Linked DNA regions of Homo sapiens: region 2 is linked to region 1. Evidence: promoter capture Hi-C in human tissues and cell types (Jung and others, 2019). All regions are on one chromosome and are shown on one strand. Each heading gives the region's core, a stretch centred on a gene start or on the middle of the fragment in contact. The rest is flanking DNA. Distances are from core to core; before and after follow the strand shown.

The links. The method cuts DNA at HindIII sites, captures the fragments that hold promoters and counts their contacts. A contact is called where the count stands out against the background at its distance.
Region 2: a contact is called between a fragment that was not itself captured here and the fragment with the promoter of PMCH in region 1, in 2 of the 25 tissues and cell types used here (aorta and stomach).

What each region holds. Positions count from the first base shown.
Region 1 is chr12:102,194,199-102,199,902 of GRCh38, reverse strand. It overlaps PMCH (pro-melanin concentrating hormone), which reads left to right and starts at 2,070. Exons shown (of 3, transcript NM_002674.4): 1 at 2,070-2,381; 2 at 2,732-2,930; 3 at 3,202-3,444. The coding sequence starts at 2,133. The coding sequence ends at 3,251. PARPBP (PARP1 binding protein) reads right to left here. Exons shown (of 11, transcript NM_017915.5): 10 at 4,456-4,591; 11 at 2,383-3,952. The coding sequence ends at 3,612. The HindIII fragment of the contact is 16,025 bases long and covers 1-5,704 here.
Region 2 is chr12:102,269,463-102,275,166 of GRCh38, reverse strand. No RefSeq gene overlaps it. Among named protein-coding and RNA genes, the nearest start is that of LINC02456, 7.3 kb to the left of the region's middle. The HindIII fragment of the contact is 6,539 bases long and covers 1-5,704 here.

The DNA.
Region 1 (5,704 bases), core at 821-3,320:
ATACAGAAAAATGTCATGCTCATAGATAATAAATTACCTTCAGGATATCAGTTCTTCTCCAAAATTAATCTATAAATCTATAAAACCAATGTGATTATAAGTTGAGCATCCCAAATCTGAAAAGCCAAAATCCAAAAATGCTCCAAAATCTGAAACTTGTTAAGCATTAACAATATGCTAAAAAATATATATTCATTGAAGCATTTCAGATTTCAGATTTTGGGATACTTAACTGATATAATGCAAATGTTCCAAATTCTGAAAAAAATATCCCAAATCCAAAAATACTTCTGGTCCTAAGCATTTCAGATAAGGGATACCTAACTAGAACCTTAATATCCTGTCAAGTGTTCTTACGGAACTTGAAAAGCTGATTTTAAGATTTATATGGAAAAGAAATGACTAAGAATAGCTAAGGAACTGCTGTAAAAGAAAAACATGTGGGTAAGTAGAGGGCTGGGAAATTTGACCAGATATTAAAAATTATTTTAAAGTTATATTAATACTGTAGATTTGGCTGTGGAATAGAACGTTCTGAAAGGAGCCCACACATATATAGAAATCTGATATACTGTAGAGATGGCACTGCAGATTAGTGGGGACAGGATGACTTCTTCAAGAAATATATAAGGACATTGGAAAAAGTAAAATTACATCTCTATCTTATATCATACACAAAATTACAGATGAATTACAAACCTAAACATGAAAGTCAAAATATTTAAACTTTTAGAAGAAAATATATGAAAACACGTTAATAATCTAAGGATTGAGAAGGATTTCTAAAAAAAAACAACACATTAAAAGTAGTTGCCATAAAGAAAAAAGAAAAATATTTAAACATTAAAATTAATCAGTTTGGTTCACCAAAAGACACCAGAGGGGTTGAAAATATGTCACAAACTGAGCGAAAATAATTGAAACATATATAACTAACAATTAATATCCAGAATATATAAAGAACTCCCATAAATAAATTAGAAAAAGACAACCCAATAGAAAAATGGACAAAGCCAAAAAAGAAAAAAAAAAAAAGCATTTAACATAAGAGGAAACATAAATGGCTCAGAAACATATGGGAAGACACTTAACCTCTTTGGTAATTAGGAAAATACAAATTAAAAGGACAATGAGACACAAGAGTCAGCTAGGACATGGAACAATGGAAATTCTCATACCCTGCTTATCGAGGGCACAAATCGCTTACAACTATGTTGGAAAACATTTTGGCATTAGTAAAGCTGAACATATACATACTCCATGATCCAGTAATTCCATACTGAGAAATATACTCTAGAAAAATTCTTACATATATGTACCAGAAGACATATAAAAGAATGTATTATCTTATTCATTGGGGTCAAAATTAGAAATTAACTCTGAAATGTTTAATTAAAAGTCATACAACATAAACTCATCATCCAAAAGTAATGTTTATGGGCACATAAATATTCTTTTCATGGACTAATTCATTAATTTCTAAATTCATTAATAAATATTTGTACATATTATCCTTTTGTAAATGCAGAGATAAAATACACCTGACAGGTCAATTTTTGATATAGCATGAATGGCTTTTTGTTCACACTGACAGGCATATGTACTTTAATCACCAAAAACTATATCAAGTATTTATAAAAGAAAGTCTCTTTTGAGGATTATTTCAGTTTAATCAGGATTAAAAGGAAATAAAACTTTATCCTTATCATCCTTGAGTGAAATAACTTGAGTTTTAATATCTTTACTTAATCAGAAAATACACAAAAGGAAACAATAATATAGAGAGAGCCTGATGTCCTGTGGTCTTCCTTAATAACAACCCATTTTCAAGAGACTATAATCTACTCAACAGAAAGCATTCTACCAAGGATCTTAGTCAGATTCTGAGAAAATTCACACTCAAAATAAACAATGTGTCACTAAAACCAAAACAATGTAGGTATTAGCAGCTGCATAAAGGTTAGCCTCAATCTAATGAGTCATTTCTAAAATGATGAAAAGTATAATTCTTTGAAGTGCTTTCTATTCAAGCTAGAAAATATATAAAGATACAGAATCGTTTACCAAGCAGGCTGACAGAGAAATTTTTCATTTTCTTTCTTGTTTGACTGTATGCAAACATCAAACTAAGAATGGCAAAAATGAATCTCTCTTCCTATATATTAATACTAACTTTTTCTTTGTTTTCTCAAGGTATTTTACTTTCAGCATCCAAGTCCATAAGAAATTTAGATGATGACATGGTATTTAATACATTCAGGTTGGGGAAAGGCTTTCAGAAGGAAGACACTGCAGAAAAATCAGTTATTGCTCCTTCCCTGGAACAATATAAAAATGATGAGAGCAGTTTCATGAACGAAGAGGAAAATAAAGTTTCAAAGGTAAGTGGCAATGTGACTTGTCGTTTATTTCAATGAAAATTTAAATGATTCTTACAAATCCTCTGAAAAGTAAAACTGATACTTTTATAAACAGAAGTATATGCAAACAGTCACAATATGCATTAGGACGACTGACGATATTTCTTACATGCCAGGTAGTTCTTCCATCCCAGCAAACACCTCTTATCTGAAAGTGTTTTTTCTCCTATAAATTTGCATCTAAGGTATTTTTAAAAAGTCAAAAACAGTGCAGAGTAACTTTGAATTGATCAACAAGAATATTATACAATTGTATTATAGTTCCACTCCGAATACGATAGCTAAAAACCAAATCAACCTTCTCTTTACAGAACACAGGCTCCAAACATAATTTCTTAAATCATGGTCTGCCACTGAATCTGGCTATAAAACCTTATCTTGCACTAAAAGGATCTGTAGCTTTCCCAGCTGAGAATGGAGTTCAGAATACTGAATCAACACAAGAAAAGAGAGAAATTGGGGATGAAGAAAACTCAGCTAAATTTCCTATAGGAAGGAGAGATTTTGACAGTGAGTAGTCTTTTCAAAATTCAATTCTTACATCCTACCACCATTAAACAGAACTCTGAGTTAAAGTGAATTTGGATGCAATCATAACAAAATCAAATAAGACCATGGCTCAATTACACCTGCCAAAAATGTGGGATTAAATAGCAACAATTAATTATTATCATTTTGGTTTACTCAGAATTAGTTATACTAGATCCATTCTTTTTTTCTTAATAAATTTTGTGTGATAATTATAGTCCTTTAAACAATTTAAACTTTCTTCTTCCTTCAGTGCTCAGATGTATGCTGGGAAGAGTCTACCGACCTTGTTGGCAAGTCTGATACCTGTTGGTCCACATCATCTTTTCAGAAGAAAATAAAAGCATTTAATTGCCAATGGGAGGAGAAGCCCATACTGCTACTATAACTTGTGTATGTTAAATGTCTGTTTTAAAAGAAAGTAGTGTTAAGATGTATCAGTAACTGAAATGATATGCTTTCTCTGTGCATTAAACTTTGTGAAAATTCTGCATAATTATGACTTACTAGTATTTTTAAACAATGCTTAACATACTAACCTTACATACACTGTAGACCAAAATAATAAATCATCATAATTTACACCTTGATCTCTTAAAAATTAAGCATGTCTTTGGTGAATGGTTTATAGATACATAAACCTAAAGCATATAAGACACAAATTTATAGTCTAAAAAACTGAGTTAACTTTGCCTGGCCAGAAATCAACTTGTCCTTGGCAGTACATTTATTACTTTTTGCTACTTTAGCTAGTTTGCCGTACAATCTATTCTGTGAATCATTTGATTTCTTAGGTATTTTAGCATTTTTATGTTGAGGTGGTTCATTTCTATTATCACAGAGAATATTTTCACCATCCAAATCCACCTGTTTCCTTTTTGAGCTTTTATTTCCTGTCTGACTGGTTGATTTTCTTGATACTTTTTCATTTTTACTTCTGTCCAGATGAACATTTCCAAAACTCGTTCCAATTGTTGATCTTCCAACAGATGGATTTACACCCTCTGTTATGCAAGATAAAAAGGGGAAAGGAATTACATGATATTGAGTATTAATATTTACGAGAACTTTACAATAAACTTTAAAAATGGCTAACGAATATTCAAATTTTTAAAGTAAAATAATGCTATAAATAATATGATTGACAAATATAGCTACATTACTATCCTATTACTTTTCATTTTATCATAGCACCTCTGAGTTAGCTTTGGCCAGTAATCAACTTGTCAGCCCTATTAAGAAATATTTGTTTGAATGCATGACATTTAATCCTTAAACATATGCTACAAATTACTTCTTAAATACATTTAGTTAAATCAAACTGTGTCCTATTCCTATCGATAAATTTGTACTTAGATTTAACTTTTTAAATAAACTGAGGTCTTTAAAAATATTACCCTTTACATTTCATAGTACTTTGCAAAAATAACCTAATTTTACTTAAGTTAAAACTAATTAGTAGACTAGAATTAAATTGTTATTTAATTGCACAAATAAGGTCAATTACCAGAAAGGTCATTTTCCATGTAAAGAACACACAAAGGCTTTGATGCTAAATTAACATTATTCCAATTATCCTTGCTTATCATGTAGTCATCTTTATAAGTACAAGCAAATTGGGATCTAATTAAAGTTTGCTTCATCTAGTAACAGAAAGAAAGAAGAAAATATGCAAATTTATTCATTATTTTATTTCTTCATCTAGATAGACACACACTCTATAGTAATCAAGGTATAAAAATTTCCCTTAGAAATTCTATTACTCATTGAGAACCTCTCTCTAACCTTTTATATTTCATAGTTTGCAAACTCATTCATTGTTATGGCTAGCATTTTTGTTCTTTTCCAAAATAATAGCTTTATGTATATTTTTGATTTTTTTTTTGGTAACAGTTACAAAACAATCAATTTTAGACTCTTCGCAGGGCTTTGTTACATGTTCCTGTGTCAGCACTGCTTTGGAGCGTCTTATTGTAAGTAAAATAACAATACAGGTGATATACATAATCATAGAAAAATACAAGTTCTTCATCCTAAGAAGAACACACTCTTGGAAAAAAAATAGCATATGGAATTCAAGAAATTAGGGAGGGAAGAAATGCTAAGATGAAAAAAAGAACTAAGTGAGGTCAATCAAAAACAGGAAACTAGCAAAGAAACTGCAAGATAAAACAAAATGATATAGGAAAGACATTATTTCTCGAGTATTTAGGAAAACAAGAAAGATGATTCAATGTATCAGTCTAGAAAGATTTGACCAAGTGACTTAATGGTCAGAAATCCAAAGTATACTCTTGCATTTATCTTCAAACATCAAATAGGAGGGCCTAACTTTCTACATAAATAGGAGAAAATTACAAAGATGAACTCAATTCTTGATCACTGAAAAGGATGCCAAAAAAAGTAGTTTTGGAAATTTGTTCCACAAACATAAACCAGTGAGCTATTGGGGATAGAAATTAATTTTAGAACAAAGTAGCCTATACAAATAATGCCAATTTCAACAATTACAAATGATGTGTAATACCATTCAGGTTTAATGGAGAGATGTCTCCAAATAATTAGAAGTCACCTGAAATCATTTTCTGACATAGACAAAGTTTCAAATACATAATTCAATAAAGATGACTTCAGTAATTCAAAAATGTAACACTTCGAGTATAACTACATTACCCTGATTATTACTTACAGAGTATTTGTTGATACAGTCATGAAATCTAAAACAGCATGACTTTATATATTCAGTAGTTATATAT
Region 2 (5,704 bases), core at 1,289-3,788, 75 kb before region 1:
ATGGTACTAACTGCTAAAATAGAATTCTATACCTAAAAATATAAATATTAAAAATGAGAGTATAATAAAGATTTAACATACAACTATAAATTTGGAGTTTGTCATCAAAACACACTTCGTAAATTGCAGAAGAGAGGACTATACTAGAAGAAACACAGCAGTATACAGATGACACTTAGACAATAGAGAATGGAAAGCAGAAATTTTAGAAAAAATCAAGTAGAAATGAAAAAACAAAAGGATATATATACACAGCATGTATGTATAAGATTCTCAAAGGAAAAAAGCAAATCAGTGCCAGAAAACAAAATTTTAAATATGTCATTAAAGAAAACTTTGTTAAAATAACAAAATACTTTACATATTAAAGGGAATACCATGTACATAGGAAAATTTTCCCAGAATGATTACCACCAAAATGTAATAAAACTATTGTACCTTAAAAAATATTTTCTTGTTATTTAAGCCAAAAAAGTAAATTACATACAAGAAGGAAAGTTATCATTTAGGCATAACTCTTTTAGATATGGAAGACAATGGAGAGATATATTTCTTACTCAAGGCCAAGAAAAAAATGAGTCAATGATTTTGTATCCAACTTAAGTGACCATCAAATATTAAAAGCACAACTGAAATTTAGAAGCATGCAAAAAAAATTCAGGGAATATTATAAATCTTCAATAATTAAATTTTAAAAATGTAACAATGACACAATAATAGACAAATCACTAAAAAAGAAGATAATATGAAAGTGATCTTATGGGAATTTAATATATTATAGAAGTTACACTTTAAATCAATCAGGAAATAATAGGCCTTTACGTAAATGGAACTGGTATAATTAGCTTCATATACAGATGAAAAAAATTAAAATTAACATTCCTACCTATGCCACATGGAAAATATCTAGACAAATTTTTAAAATAAACATAAAATCAATAAAATTACTAATACAAAATATAAAACATTTTTAAACTTCACATTAGGAAAAGCATTCTCAAACAAGGCTTTTTATCTAACAATTATTTAACAATTATTATAAACAAATTATTGTTAAATTTGACTATATAGTAATAATAATTATTGAGTACTTATTATATGCCAGAGACTATTCATTATTTAAGCCATTTAACATTCACATCAACCCTGTGAGGTGATTTCTATTATAATCTTAAGTTTACAGGTGAGAAACTTGAGAATAAGAGAGGTTAGGTAACTTACCAAAGATCACACAAATAGTTTCAGAGTGGGGATTCAAACCCAAGTCATTTGCTTTTAAAGCCCATACTCTTAACCACTATGCAATATCCTGCTCTACTTAAGACACAAGAAATAGAGTTTAAAAATAATCACTAGGCTTGGATAAAATAACTGTAACACAAATAATATAAAAAGGATTAATATTTGGGACAAAATAAAGAACTCGTACAGGCCTACAAGAAATTGAAAAGCAGCCCAAAAGAAAACTGGGCAAAGGATAATTCACAGGGAAAGAAACTTGAGTGGCCAGTATACATATGAAGAGATAATCAACTCAGTAGTAATCAAGAAAATGCAAATTAAATAATGAGATACTTGTTCACATTCACCAAATTAGCACTAATTTTAGAAGTTTGACAAAATTAAGTGTTGAAAAGATGTAGAGAAATCACCATTATTATATACTGCTGATGGAAGAATAAATAAGTACAGCCATTTTGAAGAATAGTTTGACAGTATCTATTAAAACTCAAAATGCTCATATCCTATAAACCAATAATTTCAATTCCAGGACTCTTTCTTTAGGAAAAAGTCTGCACTGGTAGACAGTTATAAGCATTGTTATTTATAATAATGAAAAACCAAAAGCAAACTACATGTCCATCAACAGAGGAATGTGATTATGTGTATATGTATTTAATAAAATTCTGTGCAACAGTTAAAACAAATGAACAAGATCTAAATGTCTCAATACAAATAGATATGAAAAATATAGTGTTGAGTGAAGAAGTGAAACAATCTCTGGAAGTATAAGCCCCAAACTTCAGTCTGAGGTTGAGGTTTTGGTGAAGAGAAAATCAGGCAAGAGAGTAGAAACAAAGGGATCTTTAGGTTTATCTTCTCTTGTCTTTTTCAAATGTGAACGTATCCATGTTTTGTTGCGTAATTAAAATTAATTTTTAAAAAGTTTGGCAGTAATCAAAATTAGTAAGTGTGGCAACAGAAAGTACTCTATCAATAATGAGAGTTTTCATCAAATTTGTTAAATTTAAATTCAAAGTGCCATGTTTTGCAATGTCATATAGCTTAGGTTCATTATCTGTTAAAGTGTATCATTCTGTGGCCAAGGTCTTTGACTAAGCTTTGGTTAAAATAATAGTTATAATGATAGCAATATGTTTCAATGTTATTTAATGAGAAACTTTGAGTTGTTGACACAAGTGCTTTTAAAACACAAAGCATTGGACTAGATATTGCCCTTTGTTTTAGCTAAATATTGAAGAAGTTCAGAGAATATTTATATACCAGTTACCATAAAATTTAAATTAAATCTATACTTATTCTGTATCATGTTATCTTAACATTGAATTTCTGCCTAAGTTTACAGAATAAGACAGTTTTCTTATAATATTCAAAGGTTTGTTTTAATAATTTCAAGAATTGTTGACTTGTAATGTTGAGAATATAAATTTTTGTTATAGGAAACTACATTTTTTAGAACATTGGCCCTAGAGAATTGTCTTTGTTTCCATAAAACTGTAAACTGTATTCGCCATAGTTTGCATTTGCTCACAAAGTTTACAATAGCTAAACACACTCTCTGACCTTCTTCCCACCCTAATCTTGTTACAATTAACTCAACCAGACTATATGGCTTTTCTTGGAGTGGGAAAAAAATCTAATGAAGACTCTTTTCTTGCAGAACTTATTTTTGCAAGTAAATTAAATAAGTGATTCAAACATATTATTTTGAAGGTAAAAAATGGAATCTTATTCCATTGCCCATGATTCATCAAAAAATTAAAGTAAAAGTTATAAATGGAACATCATGGATGTAGCAATTAATAGTCTGCTTTTCCCTTTAAACAAATTCTCCATTGAGAAAGATTTCAACATAAAAATAAAATTAGGAAAAGATACTAAAGAAAGCATGAGGTATAAGACAATAATCTCTTGAGTGAGAATGGTTTGACTAAAACCATTTTTTAAAAGATGGATGAATTCAACTATATATAAATAAAAAGTCTAAGTACCTAAAGAAACAAGCAAGCAAAGTCAAAGCACAGCCAATAAATTGGAAGAAAGCATCTGCAATACAAATTATAAAAGGCTAATTTCATAAAATGTGTAAGCTCAGGAAAATCAATATAGAAAAATGGGCAAAGGTCATAGACAGATAAGAAAAAAAAGGAGTACAGACAAAAATACAAATTCATTTTTTAAAACGAAAGGAAAAACAAGAAGATGCTGATTTTCATTTATCAGATGAGAACAAATTTTAAGAGTTTAATAATATGAGGAAATGGGCACTCATACTTTCAGGTGAGAATTTCACTTGGTACAGTCCCTATGGAGAGTCACTGGGCAATACCTGTTAATATTTTCAATACATGTAAGTATCATCCCTGTATTCTACTTTTAAAGTTATCATTCACATATATTCAAACAAATGCACAAAGAGGGAGCTAAAAACAATTCACTATAGCACAACTTGTAATAGCAAAAAAACTGGAAATAATCTAAATTCCCATCAATAGAGATTGCTTAAATAAATCATGGTGCATCCCTAGAATGGAATGCTAAATACAACTATAGAATAGTATCCAAGACATCTTGTTACAAGGAAAAGGCAAGATACAGAGCAGAGTGTAAAATATGCTATCATTGCAGGTCTGTTTTTAGACTGTATATATATATGATAATATGTATACATAATATCTCAGGAAACACAAATAACTGATAGCTGTGTTAGGACTGAGGGGCAACATTTATTTTCATTGTCTATTTGTTGACGCCTTTTGAATTTTTTTTTTTTTTTTTTTTTTGAGACGGAGTCTCGCTCTGTCACCCAGGGTGGAGTACAGTGGCTCGTTCTTGGCTCACGGCAAGCTCCGCCTCCTGGATTCACACCATTCTCCTGCCTCAGCCTCCCGAGTAGCTGGGACTACCAGCGCTCACCACCACGCCCGGCTAATTTTTTGTGTTTTTAGTAGAGATGGGGTTTCCCCGTGTTAGCCAGGATGGGCTCGATCTCCTGACCTCGTGATCCGCCCGCCTCGGCCTCCCAAAGTGCTGGGATTACAGGCGTGAGCTGCCGCGCCCGACCGCCTTTTGAATTTTTTTTGTACCAAGTGCATATATTACCTACTTTGAAAATTAACTAAAATTGGGTGGGGGAGAATTTGTAAATACATGCAGATGCTTGATCAACTTCACAATTTGTGTACAACATAATTTTCTAGGAAGATTAAAGAACAGCCTGAAAAACTTGAGACTAAACATAGTAGCCATAGATCTCAGAGTGCACATCTGGGTAAGTAAACTATGTCAAGAGAGCAATAGAATTTTATAAATCTGAATCTCAGCTACCTTTCTCTTGTGTGCAGTTGTGTCTAAGTTCCAGGGAGCTGACAAAGTATTGAGATATTGGCAGGGAGGAGGGAATAGAGCAGATGTAGTGTTGGAATCACTTCTCTACACAGACATACACTGAGAAATCTACAATCCCAATTGGTCTTCCATCATCAGCCCACACAGCTTAGCAAGAAGTTGTTCTTATTCCTGTCCGAATGGGCATTTCAGGATCTCCATTTCCTCTGCTTCTTCAGCACCACACTAAGAGTGGAACAGGATTCTTTTTGCTCCTGTTTTCATGTCACACTAAAGAATATGACTCTCTTTTGGGAGGTCGAGGCTGGCAGATCACTTGTGGGTCAGGAGTCCGAGACAAGCCTGGCCAACATTGTGAAACCCCATCTCCTCTAAAAATACAAAATTAGCTGGGTGTGGTGGCACGTGCCTGTAGTCCCAGCTATTCAGGAGGCTGAGGCAGAATTGCTTGAACCTGGGAGGCGGAAGTTGCAGTGAGTTGAGATCGCACCACTGAAATCCTGCCTGGGTGTCAGAACGAGACTCCATCTCAATAATAATAATAATAATAATAATAATAATAGAATATGACTTTCTTTGAGGCTGACACGGCATTATCATCCAGGGGCAGGATGCCCAAGTCATATCACCCACCCATACCCAAGCTTCTCTAAAGTCTGGCACCATGCCTTGTCTGTCAGCCTGGAGGCAAGAGACAAGGACCCTCTCTCTGGGACCTCCTAGACTCCCCATTTTCATTAATTCTCCTCTATATAACCTCATTCCTCTCAGCCCCAGGGAATCTTTTTCTTTTCTGGTAAAGTAAGTAAAAGCCATATTATTTCTCAATGTTTCTCAGAAACATTTTATCTATATTCTCAATCTTCTAACTTCAGCTAAAGCTTAGACTTTTTGAACACCTGCTTTTTTCTACCACATTATATCATTTACCTTTGAAATGGATCTCAGGGCCAACTCTCCTCTTGAAAGCAGAGATTCTAAACAAATAAGAACATAAGTTAGTGTTCAGTATTAAATATTGATCTGCCTCAAATACAATAGAAGACATTTAAAGTGGTAGGATCTTAGAGTTAGATACTTAGGTTCCCAAATTCTGACCTTCCATTTATTGGCT